Linked DNA regions of Homo sapiens: region 2 is linked to region 1. The links are contacts of gene promoters, found by promoter capture Hi-C in human tissues and cell types (Jung and others, 2019). All regions are on one chromosome and are shown on one strand. The core of a region is centred on a gene start or on the middle of the fragment in contact, and the rest is flanking DNA. Distances in the headings are between cores, read along the strand shown.

Region 1 (7,882 bases), core at 1,722-4,221:
TCACTCTTGTTGCCCAGGCTGGAGTGCAATGGTGCAATCTCGGCTCACCACGACCTCCACCTCCTTGGTTCAAGCAATTCTCCTGCCTCAGCCTCCTGAGTAGCTGGGATTACAAGCATCCACCACCATGCCTGGCTAATTTTGTATTTTTAGTAGAGACAGGGTTTCTCCATGTTGGTCAGACTGGTCTTGAACTCCTGACCTCAGGTGATCCACCCGCCTCGGGCTCCTAAAGTGCTGGCATTATAAGCGTTGAGCCACTGTGCCTGGCCTGTTTTTTTATTTTTTTTTTTTTGAGAGCAATTATATGGTTTTAAGCAAAGGAAAGACACAATCTGACTTCTGTTTCAAAGGATTACCCTGGTTGCTATGTTGAAAAAAGACTTTAGGGGCAAGGTGAAAACGGAAACCTGTTAGGAGTCTATTGCAATAATCCAGGTGAAAGCTGATGGTGGCTCAAACCAGAAAGGTGGTCAGGCTCTGGATATATTTTGAAAGTACAGGCAACAAGACTTCCTGATGGCTGAAAAGGGTATGTAAGACAGTCAAAGTATTTAAATAAAATATGTGTAATCTTTAATTGAGATAAGGAAGACTATAGATGGTGCAGCATTGGGAGGGGAAGTCAGAAGTTCAGTTTTGGACATGTGAAATTTGAGATGTCTATTACTGGAAATATTAAACAGCAATTGGTTATACCAGTTTGGAGTTCAGGGGAAAGGCCAGGGCTGTAGATAGATATTTGGAATTTGTCAGCACATGGATGATATCTAACACTATGAGTTAAGGAGGACACCAAAGTAACAAATATACCCAGAGAAGAAAAGAGGTCCAAGGACTGAGCTTGCGGCACTCCAAGCAAGATTAAAAGGTTGGGTTTTGAGGAAGAACCAATAAGGATGCTGATAAATGGCCAGTGAGGCTGGAGGGAAACCATGAGAGCATGATATGGGGAAGCCAAGGAAAGAAAGTTTTTCCAGGAGGAGGGAATGATCAACTGTAACAAGTACTGCTGATTGACCAAGTAAAATTAGTATTGACAGCTGTTTGCTGGATTTACCAATGACTTTGACATGAGCAATTTCTGTGGTATGGTGGAAATGAAAAAGTCTGATTGGAATAAATTTGATAAAGAATGGGAAAAAAGGGCATTAGCAACAGAAATTATAGACAATCCTTTTGAGTTTTTCTGTAAAGAGAGCAGAGAAATGGATTGTTAGCTGGTGTGGGAGAGGAGATTAAGAGATTTTAAGATGAGAGAAATAATGGCATATTTATTTGCTATTGAGACTATTCAGTGGAGAGGAGAAAATTGAAGATTGTAAGAGTCAGGAAATAATTGGTGGATATATATATATATATATATATATATATATTTTTTTTTTTTTGAGACAGTTTTGCTCTGTTGTTCAGGCTGGAGTGCAGTGGCATGATCTTGGCTCACTACAACCTCTGCCTCCCAGGTTCAAGCAATTCTCCTGCCTCAGCCTCCCAAGTAGCTGGGACTACAGGTGTGCACCACCACACCTGGCTAATTTTTTGTATTTTTAGTAGAGATGAGGTTTTGCCATATTGGCCAGGCTGATCTTGATCTCCTGACCTTGTGATTCACCTGCCTCAGCCTCCCAAAGGGCTGGGATTACAGGCGTGAGCCACCGCGACTGGCCGGTGGAGCTATATTCTTGGGTAAGCAAGAAGAGATGGGCTCTGTTGTCCATTTGAGGGCTGGCCTTACATAGGATTATACAGTTCACCTACTATAGTTGGAAAGAAAGCAGAATCTGGCATATAGATGTTGGTAGATTGGTAGGTGGACATCTGTGGAACTTCGTTTCTGGATGCTTTTATTTATCTCATTTGAATAGTATTTAATATTAAATACTAAATACTATTAAAATCATAAATCTTTATGAAATATTAGCAGTAACTATTTCACTTCAGCCGAAAATGAAGATGAGGAATAAGTTCTGGAGATTTGAAGAGAGGAGGAATTGTCTTAGTCCATTATGGCCACGATAACAAAATACCTTAGACCAGGTAATTTATAAACAAGAGGCCAGGTGTGGTGGCTTAACAAACTGCCCAAATGAGGCAGCAAGAGTGCACCTAATTTTAATATCAGTTATACAAAATGCCAAACATACAAAATGGTTATCACAGGGAAAAATTAACAGCACATCACAAGTGTGCTCCAAAGGATTTTTCCTGGAGCACCTTTCTTTCTACAGGAATACCTGTTTTACAAAGTAAGGCACATAGTTTTGTATCCTAACCATTAGGCTCAAGGCAAGTAGTGGTCTTTGTCTTTTTACATTTTTATGATTGTGACACTTAATAAATTGCTGAGCTTCAATTAGGTCTGAACATAATGGGGTCCTAAAAAGCAAACACACAGGCCCCTGTATGTCCTTTTGACAGCTGCTCATGAAAATCTACCTTTTTCATAATTTGGATAAACTGAAGGCCACTTTGATTTTATGTTGCAAATGACAGAAATCTAAGAATTGAGCCTGAATTTTAGAAAACTGTGAAAATCAATTCCGGACAACTGAGTCTAACACGCAAAAATCTTGTTTTTTTTTTTTTTTTTTTTTTGAGACGGAGTCTTGCCCTGTCACCCAGGCTGGAGTGCAGTGGTGCGATCTCGCTCACTGCAACCTCCGCCTCCTGGGTTCAAGCGATTCTCCTGCCCCAGCCTCTCGAGTAGCTGGGATTACAGGTGCGCGCCTCCATGCCCAGCTAATTTTTGCATTTTTAGTAGAGACGGGGTTTCACCATGTTGGTACGCTGGTCTCAAACTTCTGACCTCGTGATCCGCCCACCTCGGCCTCCCAAAGTGCTGGGATTAGTGGCATGAGCCACCGCGCCAGGCCTACAAATCTTGTATCTTCTTAACCACTTCCGGCTTCCTGCAAACCTCGCTCTAGGGAGCCAGAAGCGCGGAAAAGGTTTGCGGGGTCTGCGGTTGCGCAGAAGCCCAGCGACTGCAGAACCCTGCCCCAGGCACCCTGGGCGCTCTGCCCTACCGGCGGCGCCTCTCACTGCTCACGGAACGTTCTGGAAGTTTGGGAAACCCTGAGCGGTCTCTGAGGACCTGGTGAGCAGGTGGGTTTGCAGCGCTGGGGATGAGGCCTCGGCAGACCTGTCTCTTCGCGTTTTTCTTTCTTCGTTCTTCGCCGGCGTAGTGCTCTCTGACTTGCCGAGCTCAGAGCTTTACCTCAGGGCTTTGGCGGGTGAGGGGAGGAGATCCTGCCCACCCTATTTTCCCCTTGAGAATCGGTGTGGAAAGGGCTCCCTCGGGGTTTTCCCTGTCAGAAGTCCGTCACCCACCTGCGAGTGTAAATTTTATTTGCTTTAGGCTTTGTTGGTCACTCCGAAAAGTAAAGAATGGAAGAGACCGTGAAGATCCTTGTAGGCCGGCGCCTCACTGGACCCGTGAGGAGACTGAGCAGGGAAAGTGACTTGCTGGAGATGATGGGGCAGTGTTAAACTTAAATTTGCAAACACTCCAGAGCTTGGAAAAAACAAAACAGTAGCAACAAAAGCCCAGAATACCAGGGCCTTGGAACTGGCAAAGGTTTAAGAGGCCACTGGGCCCACGCTTTTTGTTTTTATTTTTAATTTAACTTTTATGTTAGGTTCAGGAGTCCGTGTGCAGGTGTGTTACATAGGTTAAACTCGTGTCACGGGAGTTTGTTGTCCAGATTCTGTCGTCCCCCAGGTGCCCATTAGTGACTGTCCCTCCTCCACCTTCTGGTCCCCCGGTCCCGTCCCCCGCGCCTGCCCCTCCCCTCTGTCCCTGCACGCTCAGCGTTCACCTCCCGTTTAGAAGCTTTTTGTTTTCAGGTGAGGATGCAGCCTAACCAGAGGTGACGTGATTTGCCCAAAGCCACACAGTCCTTGCTTGGCTGCTGGTCGAGGAGCTTTTCCCCAGAAATGCTGAGAAGGCACTGCCCCAGCCCCAGGTTTCTGATTCATTCCTCACCTTTAACAGGGACTTGGGACACGACTGACCCCACTCCTTTCTCACTTATTGTGCACGTGATTACTTTACTTCTCTTAGCTTTAGTTAAATTGTTTTTAAAACCTATGTATAAGGGTGTAAAGATTTAAATGAACATTTATGGATTACTAACTGATAGGCACAAACATACATATCCACATACATACCAGTAACTACTCCAAAAAGTTCTTGTAACCTTTGCATATATGTATTCATAGCTATGTGGGTGTATTAGTAAGTATGTGTAGGGGGGGTTATAGAAGTTGAAGCCCTTCCCCCAGCCAACTCACCATTTACTCATTCACAAATCTTTGAGTGTCTACTGAGTGCCAGGTGCTGAGTAAGGTAAAACAGAATCAGAATGTGTCCCTGCTCTCATGGAGCTAGTTAACTTCTCATTCATTCATTCATGCAATAAATGAGGAAATTAGAGAGCAGCTGGTTTCAACTCAGCAGGAAGAACTTTCTAATTATTAAAGTTGTTGAAAAGTAGAATGAAATCACCTTGGGAGATACTAACTTACCATCACTGAAAGTGACTTTCTCTTTCTTTTTTTTTTTTTTTTTTTTTTTTTAAGACAGAGTCTCGCTCTATCACCCACGCTGGAGTGCAGGAATGGGATCTCAGGTCACTGCAACCTCCACCTCCTGGGTGTGCAGCCACACCTAAGGAATGGGGAGTTATATTCCCCACCCCCACTGTTTAATATTTTTAGAGACAGGGTCTTGCTATGTTGCCCAGGCTGGAGTACAGTTGTTATTTACAGGTGCAAACATAATGCACTGCAGCCTCAAACTCTTGGCCTTAAGCAATCCTCCTGCTTCAGTCTCCCGAGTAGCTTGAATTATAGGTGTGTGCCACTGTGCCCAGCTCCATGCTCCTGTTCTTAAGGTTGGAGTATATATACATAAATTTTTTGGAATTATTCTGCACAGATTTGTCTCTTCTCCATTTATTGGTTTGTTCAAACCTTTATATCAGTATAGACTCATGGATATTCACTTTATACTTTGGATTATAATGCTATTTTATTTTGCTCAAATTGTTCCAGCTTTAGCCATTGGGAGCTCTTTCAGTTGGTTCCTGTGCTCTTATGACATGCCCCATCAATGCCATCTGTGTGGGGTTTTTTTGTTTGTTTGTTTTTGTTTTTAAGTACTTTCTTTTTGGCACTACTCTGGACTCATCTTGTATGTTTCCTGTCCCAGTCCTAGAATCGACCATTTCTCCAAGGAGCCCTGGTTCCTTTTTTGGAGAATGCTATTTAGAAACCAAAATCTGGGTGCTAGGTGTACTTGTTGCTAGCACCCAGGTGCTAGGGTGTCGTTTGTTTTAGGCCCTTTCAGCTAACAGAGTAAAGAAATAGATGTGTGTGTACTAATCTGGGTATATACACATACAGTCATGCATTGCTTAATGATGGGGATGTGTTCTGAGAAATGCATCATTAGGTGATTTTGTCATTGTGAGAACATCATAGAGTGTAATTACACAAACTTAGATGGTGTAGTCTACTAGACATCTAGGCTATATGGTATAGCCTATTGCTCCTGGGCTACAAATATGTATAGTATGTTAATGTACTGAATACTGTAGGCAACCTGCATATCTAAACATATCTAAATGTAAAAAAAGTAAAAATACAGTATTATCATCTTGTGGCACCACCAGTCATATATGAAGTCCATTGTTGACTGAACAGTTAATATGCAATGCATGACTGTATCTATAAAATATTTCTGTGTGTATTCTTCTGTATCTATATTAACAATGAGTTCATACTGTGACCGCCAATTCTAACTATGGACCATTCTAGCCTTGAGAGGTAGGATTAAAAAGAGACTTTAAACAAAAGCATGAAGAATGAAGTTTTTAAAAATGCTGTTATGAGCATTCTTGTATAAGTCTCTTAGTACAGATCACATGCATTTCTGTTGAGCATACATTTAGGAGTAGAGTTGCAGAGTTACAGGTTACGAGTATCTTCAACTTTAGTAGATAATGCCTGCCAAGAACTGTGAAAAGTCTTATCCTACTTGCAAGCTAATAAGCTAGCCTGTTACTGTTTTATAGATGCTTGCAGAATATATAAGATGCCTCAGAGACAAAGAATATTTTTAATTCATGGAAAAAGCAGGAATTAAATTAAATCATGACTTGGATAAAGAAAATGAACATATACATCATAGAATACTATGCAGCCATGAAAAGAAAGAAATCATGTCCTTTACAGCAACACGGATGCAGCTGGAGGCCATTATCCTAAGTGAATTAGTGCATGAACAGAAAACCAAATGCCACATGCTCTCACTTATAAGTGGGAGCTAACCATTGAGTACATATGGACATAAAGATACAAACAATAGACAATGGGGACTACTAGAGGGGAGAGGGAGGAAGGAGGATAAGGGCTGAAAAACTACCTTTTGGGTACTGTGCTCACTACCTGGGTTACAGGATCATTTGTACCACAAACCTCAACATCACACAATATACCCATGAAACAAACCTGCACATATACCCCCTGAATCTAAAATAAAAGTTGAAATTTAAAAAGAAATTTTTACCACTGAAACAACATGCTGTAAGAGCAAAGGTGGTATTTTTCTAGCTTTATAAGCAGTGCAGATTATTTTATCTAAAAGTTGAAGATATTTTTCCTTTTGGAAAATAATTGGGATGTGGTAACTTCTGGGACCTTTTTCAGTGAATATCAAAGTGTTTCAAAGAGGTTATTTTTCACTATGCATAACAAGGGATTAGTTTTGCTTTCTTTGCTTGATTTCAACTGCCTGGCATTAATTTTAGTTTCCATAGCAGCAATAGTAAGCAATTGGCATTGGAGTAGCCAGATTTGCTGCAGATACCAGAATCTCACCATAGGAAATATTTTAAGTAGCCCTGGTGTTGGACTCCTGTACTTCTCTTCTGACACAACAGAATTTGCTAATTTTAAAATGACACACTTATCATTATTGAATATTTTCAGAGCTATTTAAAAACCTGTAAGATGGCTGGGTGTGGTGACTCACACCTGTAATCCCAGCACTTTGGGAGTCTAAGGTGGGCAGATCACCTGAGGTCAGGAGTGACCATCCTGGCCAATGTGGCGAAACCCCATCTTAACTAAAAATACAAAAAAAATCAGCCAGGCGTGGTGGCGCACACCTGTGGTCCCAGCTACTTGGGAGGCTGAGGCACGAGAACCACTTGAACCTGGGTGGCGGAGGCTGCTGTGAGCCAAGATCATGCCACTGCACTCCAGCCATAGTGACAGAGTGAGATTCCGTCTCAAAAAATAAATACAGGCATTTGTGTGCATGTGTGTCTATATTGTATAATTTATATGCAGTATAACATATGCATGTATATATAACATATACAACATGCATGTGTATATATAATGTAACATGCATGTATATATAACATATATAACATGCATGTATAACATATGTATGCTGTGATGTTTTGACACATTTATACACCTGTGAAACAATTACTACAATCAATATAGTGAATATACCCATCCCAAAGGTTTCCTCCTTCCCTTCTGTAATCCCACTTTTTTTCCCATTATCCCTTCTTCGGTTTTTTTTTTTTTTTTTTTTTTGTCACTATAGTTTGTATTTCTTTTTTCTTTTTTCTTTTTTTTTTTTTGAGACGGAGTCTTGCTCTGTTGCCCAGGCTGGAGTGCAGTGGCGCCATCTTGGCTCACTGCAAGCTCTGCCTCCCGGGTTCATGCCATTCTCCTGCTTCAGCCTCCCGAGTAGCTGGGACTACAGGCGCCTGCCACCACGCCCGGCTAATTTTTTGTATTTTTAGTAGAGATGGGGTTTCACCATGTTAGCCAGGATGGTCTTAATCTCCTGACCTTGTGA
Region 2 (7,882 bases), core at 2,381-4,880, 50 kb after region 1:
ACTCTGTTTTCCATTTAGAATTACTGAGCACTCAGAAACAGAAGAGACTTAAGTTTCCATTCATTTTTGAGAAGCATATAACAAAGCAAAAATAAGCCACAATATCAGCTCAAAGAGGCCCAGAGTGATGACTCACACCTGTAATCCCAGCATTTTGGGAGGCCAAGGTGGGTGGATCACTTGAGATCAGGAGTTCAAGACGAGCCTGGGCAACACAGTGAAACTCCATCTCTACAAAATCAAAATTCAGCCAGGCGCACTGGTGGACACCTGTAGTCCCAATTACTCGGGAGGCTGAGTTGGGAGAACTGCTTGAGCCCAGGAGGTGGAGGCTGCAGTGAGCTGAGATCATGCCACTGCACTCCAAGCTGGGTGACAGGCGTGAAACCCTGTCTCAAAAAAAACAAAAACAAAAACCAAAACCTCAAAGAATACAATTTAAACTTATAGTTAACTAAATTTCCAAATTCAGAGTTTTTAAAACATAGTAGAAATAGGGGAAAAAATATGCCTTAATAATATTTAAGTAATAGTAATACTAGAGATAGAGCAATAACTCACATTAATGTATTCTACATATGAATAAATATACCCTACGAAATAAATTGGTAATTGACACTTTGGCTATGTTCTTACCTTTAATGACATGTCAATTTGATTTTTGATATTTTGAATAATAAAAGCCTCCACACCTGAGTGATTACTTGTATTCAATAAGCACCTTGAAAGCAAAATTACAATAGATGTGAAATTATCCTGGACAGCATTAGAATTAAATGGTGATAAAAGTTTTACAAATTCAAAGAGGCCATGTGTTACTTCTAGGAATAAAAACCCCACAGTAATGGTAATTAGCAAGGTCATCAACCAATTACAAAGTCACCTGTAATAGTTATTGCTCTCACTAAATGGTAAATTCTTATTTATTTTATTTTACTTTTTTAGACAGAGTCTCGCCCTGTCGCCCAGGCTGGAGTGCAGTGGCACAATTTTGGCTCACTGCAACCTCCGCCTCCCGGGTTCAAGCGATTCTCCTGCCTCAGCCTCCTGAGTAGCTGTGATTACAGGCGCCCGCCACCGTGCCTGGCTAATTTTTTGTATTTGTAGTAGAAACAGGGTTTCACCATGTTGGCCAGGCTTGTCTCAAACTCCTGACCTCGTGATCCGCCTGCCTCAGCCTCCCAAAGTGCTGGGATTACAGGCATGAGCCACCACACCCGGCCGGTAAATACTTATTTATAACTGGATCTTCCAACAAGCCATTTCTATCAAACCAAAATTTGAATATTTTTATGAACATAGTTACAATAATTTAACATGGCAAGAAAGGGCACTAACATAATGGTCTAAAAAATCCCCAAATTATTTCCTGTGAAAGTAGTCCAGTGCTAGAGTAGCTTAATTGCAAAAAAAAAAAAAAAACTAGATATGACTAGCTTAAGAAAAAAAGGGGATTTATTGGTAGAGATACACATAGAACAGAACAGGAAAGCCGGTATAATACCTAAGAATTGAGATTTCATAAACTTGCTCTTACTATCAATAGAAAACAAGAAAAGATAGAATCAAGAGTGTTGGCTGGGCATGATGGCTCATGCGTGTCATCTCAACACTTTGGGAGGCTGAGGTGGGTGAATCGCTTGAGCCCAGGAGTTTGAGACCAGCCTGGGCAACATGGCAAAACCCCATCTCCACAAAAAAATTAGCTGGGCATGATGGCATGCACCTGTAGTCCCAGCTACCTGGGAGGCTGAAGCGGGAGGATCACCTGAAGCTGGGGGGCCAAGGGTGAAGGCTGCAGTGAGCCATGATCACACTGCTGCACCCGCCAAAAAAGAACAGTACTAATATTGGCCAATCCCAGGTAAGACATTTTAGCAAATCCAGCCTGATGCCCAATTTTATCAATAAAGTTTTACTGGAACACACCCATCCCCAATACAAAGTCAAAGTTGAGCACTTGCAACAGAGACTGTATAGCCCATAAAACCTATATTTACTATTTGGCTCTTCACAGAAAATTAATTAGAAAGTTTACCAATCTTTAACTTAGAGAGTTGCTAGAATCTTATCCACCTCAAAGAGCAGTATTAGTAAGCTCTTACTATTAACATAGTGCATAGCCTATCAAAGTTGTAATTCCAGAGCCATCAATTTGAACTGTGAGTAATGGAGATTAGTGACATACATAAAGTTCCAGCAGGAGCATCATCAATCTCAGTTTAATTATTTTTAAGTCTATTTCAAATTTAGAGTATTCCAATTGATTGAACTGCAATATATACTATTAGTCATACAAAATATAGACATATATATAGTATGTCTGAAATATTTGATTAACCCTTTCTCTAGCCATCACTGAGAATTTATAATATGGGTTCCAACCAGAGTTGAATTACATGTAAAACATACCGACATACTATGCCCTAAAACAATTACATGGCATTAACATGACTTTTAATCAACCACACACTTAGCAATTAGCCATGCTTGATACATACCTAAATAATGTATATTTGCCTTGTGAATCCAACTTGTTAATATACAGCTGAAGCATAGCTAAACTCTTTTTCCTCTAAAATGGAACAAACAATATTATTATATAAAATGAATAAAGCTTACCCAGACTTCATCACTATCCATTTTATGCATGTAATACATCCACACTTGTACCTCCTAAATAAAAATTTCACAAATTAAAATTTTTAAAAAGAAAATTAAATTATTTGTCAAATTTTCTCACTGTAACTCATTATTCTTTAGTCACCAAATATTTACATACCAGTGTCTCAATGGGGCAAAGTGTCATTACTTTCACTAAGCCCTGGAAATAAAAAAATGTAAAATTCAGATGTAAACAGATTATACTGACTGCAAACAAACAACTATAATACATCAATAGGATACTAAAAATTCAGAGAAGTGAGGGTAGGAGATTTAAAAGTGAAGTAAATTAATTTTTCCCTAAGCCTTCCATTCCAGAAAGCTAACTACAATTGATTTTTTAAGTGATATTGAGTAGAGTGTCACACAGTGTACTTTTAAAAGCAAACGATAATTTTCAATTATGTCTACAGTGGCAAGAAAATGAAATCAAATCTACAGAAATATAATTTATTAATTAAAAACAATCAAACAATATGTTAACAAAAACCATGTTTTTCTATTTAAATATTAGGAAAACCAGTTCCCACACTGAAATCTAAGGATTTCCTTGGATATCATAACTAACAAAGAGGATTGGGCAAAATAAACCATAGGAGGGAAAAACACAATGTGTATTAGTCTTTCTGGTAATGAGTCAGTGGATGCCTTAGATGGAGTCCTGAGAACTTGAGTTATGAGAAACATAAAGAAGCTTCATTTTCCAAGATCCCTACAGAAATAAAGTGTTAAAAGAAGAAAGTTATGCTTTTCTACTGGATGCTGTGCTATCAATAATGGTGGCCTCTAATAGCTATTCGTGTTTAAATAAATTAAAATTTAAATTTGAAACTTAGTTCCGGCTGGGTGTGGTGGCTCACACCTGTAATCCCAGCACTTTGGGGGGCTGAGGCAGGCTGATCACGAAGTCAGGAGATCGAGACCATCCTGGCTAACACAGTGAAACTCCGTCTCTACTATAAATACAAAAATATTAGCTGGGTGTGGTGGCGGGCGCCTGTAGTCCCAGCTACTCGGGAGGCTGAGGCAGGAGAATGGAATGAACCCAGGAGGTGGAGCTTGCAGTGAGCTGAGATAGCACCACTGCACTCCAACCTGGGCGACACAGCAAGACTACACCTCAAAAAAAAAAAAAATAGTTCCTTAGTCACATTTCAAGTGTTCAGTTTGGCTAGTGGCTTTCATATTGTCAAAGTTCTACTGGACAGCATTACACCAGAGTTTTCAAAGGTTGCAGAGAAAAGAGTGGGAAAGGAATCAGAAAAGACCTTACTTTAAGTTCAGAACAGGCAAAGGGCTATTTTCAATATTAGAATACATATTTTATTTACCTGAGGTACAGTAAGAAAACTCTTGATTTCTAAGTACTGGTAAAGTAGACTATTGTCTTCTATTCTCAATAAACTATTCTCCAGCAGCTCCTACAGATTAAAATATATGCAGATACATATATAGTGAAGTCAACAGCTGTTATTTGTTGACATAACTATGTATTTAAGTTATAATGGGAACAAACATCTTACCAATCCTTTGGAGATAACAGACTCTTCTGTTCTGAAAAATAATATTAAAATTTATCATGAATTTGTAAACTATTTTAGAATGATACTTCATCTTATGAAAAATACAGCAAAAACTGAAATTTTAACACTTTTAAAATGCATATCATTAAGGAGAAATTCTGTTGAAGAACTTGATCAAAAGTTTTAATCCATCTTTGATCTGTCTTTCGGTTTGGCTAAGGCCACTAAATCTGACCAAAATAAATCTACTCAGGGATTATTTCCTAACTTCAAAACAATAGATCTTCAACAGCAAGTGCTAAGAAACTAACTAAACCTGATATAACCAATGCTATATATTCCAGTTGATTATTCTGTAAAATCTTTCCAATTCTTTTTATTCAAAAAAAGACTCAATGACTCTGCAGTTTGGAAATCTCAAGAATTTAGGACTTAGATTCAAAACAATACATATTATCACTGTATGAATAACAGAAACTAAATGTAATGAATATAAAATCATTAAAACATACATAATACAGCAAATTTACAGAATTAGTAACTACTTGTGCCAGGAGACCCTTGGAAATTCCTGCCTTGTATGCTGAAGCTTTGGACATTGCCATGTTACAAATCTTCCTTCACCTGGTAAGAGATGGGACTGATAAACTGTCACTAGTGTTCATAGAGGATAATTGCAAAGCCCTAACTGATCTCAGGGGATAATTTAAACATGTTACATGTTATAGTGAAAGAAAACAAAGCATATAGTTCTGTGAAATTCTTTAATTTCTGTCTAGAAATTATGTATACCTGTTACTCTGTAATTTCCTTTTTTTTTTTTTTTTCTTTTGCGACAGGGTCTTACTCTGTTGCCCAGGCTGGACTGCAGTGGCATGATCTCTGCTCACTGCAGCCCAGACCTCCCAGGCACAGGTGATTCTTTCACCTCAACCTCCCAAGTAGCTGGGACAACGGGCAGGCGCCACCACTCCTGGCTAATTTTTTCTATTTTTTGTAGAGAGAGAGACTGGTTTCGAACTCCTGGGGTCAAGCAATCCTCTCGCCTTGGTCTCCCAAAGTGCTGGGATTATAGGCGTGAGCCACCGTGCCTGGCTTTTTTTTTTTTTTTTTAAATAGAAAGTCCTGCTGCTTAGCACCTCAAATGAGAAAAGTTGTAATTGAATGACATCACTGTCAATAATCTAAATTATAAAAGGTGGAAGTCAAGACACCTCCTTCCTTTTGATGCAATTCACAGACTGTGTCCATGAAGGAAAAATACGGAAGAACTTCTTTTATTGACTGCCCTTCCTTAAGATGGAGGAGGATGCAGTGGGGTAGAGGTGTTTTAATTTACCAACTTTTGGAGTAAGAGAAGAAACCTTAGAAACAGATGACTGTAAAAGCCCTTAAGACAAAATCTTAATACTGTCTTAAGTTTAAAATAAAACAGACTTTGGTGTAAAACCTCCTTGACTCATTTCTGTCTCTCTCGTGAATTATTTGCCTCGCTGTTTTATAAAATAACCAATTAATTAATTAGAGCTTAGCAAAGAAAAGGCAGTCTCCGCTGATCTTAACAAGGACTATTTTAACACTACTATTTCATTTTGAGATACCATCTAAACGATCTTACCTTTGCAAAAAGACTTCAATGTGCCCCATATTAAACTGCAAAAGGTACAATGGGCTAAAATAGAAACAAAACAAATATATATATTATACACACACACAGAGATATGTACACACATACATATTGTTATGGGTTGAATTGTATCTCCCCCAAAAAAGATATGTTGGAGTCCTAACCTCTAGTACCTCAGAATTTGACCTTATTTGGAGATAGGGTTATGGAGGTAATCAATTTAAAATGAGATTATTAGGGTGGGCCCTAATCCAATATGACTGTTGTCCTTATGTAAAAGGAAAGTTTGGAGACAGACACAAGCACACAGGGAGAACAGCATACGAACATGAAGGCAGAGAACAGGATAATGCATCTACAAGCCAAAGACCATCAAAGATTGTGAGCAAATCACCAGAAGCCAGGAGAGAGGCATGGAGAAGATTCTCCTTCACAACCCTCAGAAGGAGCATCCAGAACTATGAGACAAACTATTTCTGTTATTTCAACCATCCAGTTGGTAGCACTTTTTTACAGGAGCCCTAGCAAGTTAATATACATATGCTGTATAAGTTATTTTGGTGATAGAATGTGATGCTTAAGAGTATAGGCTCTGGGGTCAGACAGAGCTATCTGCATCCCACCTATGCCACAAAGTAGTTAGATCTTCAGTGGTATATTAACTTGTCTAAGCCTGTTATTTTCATCTGTAAAATGAGAGAATGCTCTATTTCACAGGCTTATTATAAGGATGAGATAATGCATATAAAGTTATTAGCATAATGTTTCATACATGGTGAACATGCAAATGATAGCCAGTATTTCAACATTTACATACGAATGTACTCCTAGCTATATTCATATATAAATGCACAAACTCACACAAATACCCAATGCCTATAAGACAAATACACAATCCTTATTATCATAGAACTCAAAGTCCAGAAGATATTACATTATAAAATTATATATTTTAAAAATAATTTTAATAAACATTGTGGGAAAAGAAGACAAGGTCAAGGTAATTATAATAGAAGGATTCAACCTAAATTGGGTGGTGAGTGAAGGCTTTCTTCAGAAAGTGACATTTAAGGATAAAGAGAATTTTAAGCATATACAAAGGCCAAATAGGAAAATTCATAACATTTAAACTAGAAACAAAAGAAGGTCTGTGTCACTGGAGCATAGTAAACAAGAGGAAAGGTGGTAGGAGATGAATCAGGTCAATTAAGCAGGGACCAGACCAGGCACAAGTTTGTCTCAGAAGTTATGCAAAGGCATTAAGACTTTATTCTTAAAGCAATAAAAAGCCACTGGAGGGTTTTCAGTAAGGGACTTCTTTTAAGGCTTCGCTTTCTGGTATGTTGAGAATGTGTTAAATTAAAAGGAAGTAAAAGTAGATATATAAATCCACTCAGGATTACAGCAGTAATCCAGTGAAAAGATGATGATACCCCTGGGTACCTGGCTAGTTCCAGGGTGGTCTCAAAAGCTTCAAAACCAAGCCCTGTTTATCATCTTCTGATTCTTGTCCCCACCATTCCCTTACACCTATTTCAACACTCCCCACTTTCATTACTTGTCTACTGCTATCTTTAACAGATTATAGCTGGGATCATTCTTATTAAAAATAGCCTTTACTATTTATTTAAAATGTATTAGTGTGTTAATATGCATATATTGGACATTAGATAAATGAGAATTTTATGAAATTCCTTTTAGAATACATGAATAAACCAAACACTAACTCTTACCTTAAGACCATTGGAAGCTGATCAATATGGATGCCCTGTACAAATACTAGATATGCCAGAGAAGCCATTGAGTCTGCTAACTGTTTATTTTCTTCTTCTTCAAATTCAAGGTAATTCCAAGTTCTCTTTTTCCTTCCATGATTAAAAATCATTTTGGGGAAAGGGTGTCCAATTGCTGATAAAAAACCCTATGAAATGGATAAAAAAGGAAACCATAGCACACAGACTCTAAAATGCCCCCCACCCCGTGTATTCAAACTCCACATTCTCACCAAGGGGAGGTGTAATCACTCCCTTTGAGCGTGAGTGGGACCTATGAGACTTGCTTTCAACCA

What was found. Contacts are between HindIII fragments. The study calls those that stand out against the background at their distance.
Region 2: a contact is called between a fragment that was not itself captured here and the fragment with the promoter of C1orf146 in region 1, in 3 of the 25 tissues and cell types used here (adrenal gland, bladder and dorsolateral prefrontal cortex).

The regions. Positions count from the first base shown.
Region 1 is chr1:92,214,944-92,222,825 of GRCh38, forward strand. C1orf146 (chromosome 1 open reading frame 146) reads left to right here and starts at 2,972. Exons shown (of 6, transcript NM_001012425.2): 1 at 2,972-3,105. The HindIII fragment of the contact is 16,370 bases long and covers 1-7,882 here.
Region 2 is chr1:92,263,918-92,271,799 of GRCh38, forward strand. It overlaps GLMN (glomulin, FKBP associated protein), which reads right to left. Exons shown (of 19, transcript NM_053274.3): 8 at 7,548-7,735; 9 at 5,806-5,859; 10 at 4,188-4,218; 11 at 3,996-4,085; 12 at 2,783-2,824; 13 at 2,502-2,575; 14 at 637-721. Among named protein-coding and RNA genes, the nearest start is that of GLMN, 31 kb to the right of the region's middle. The HindIII fragment of the contact is 4,800 bases long and covers 1,231-6,030 here.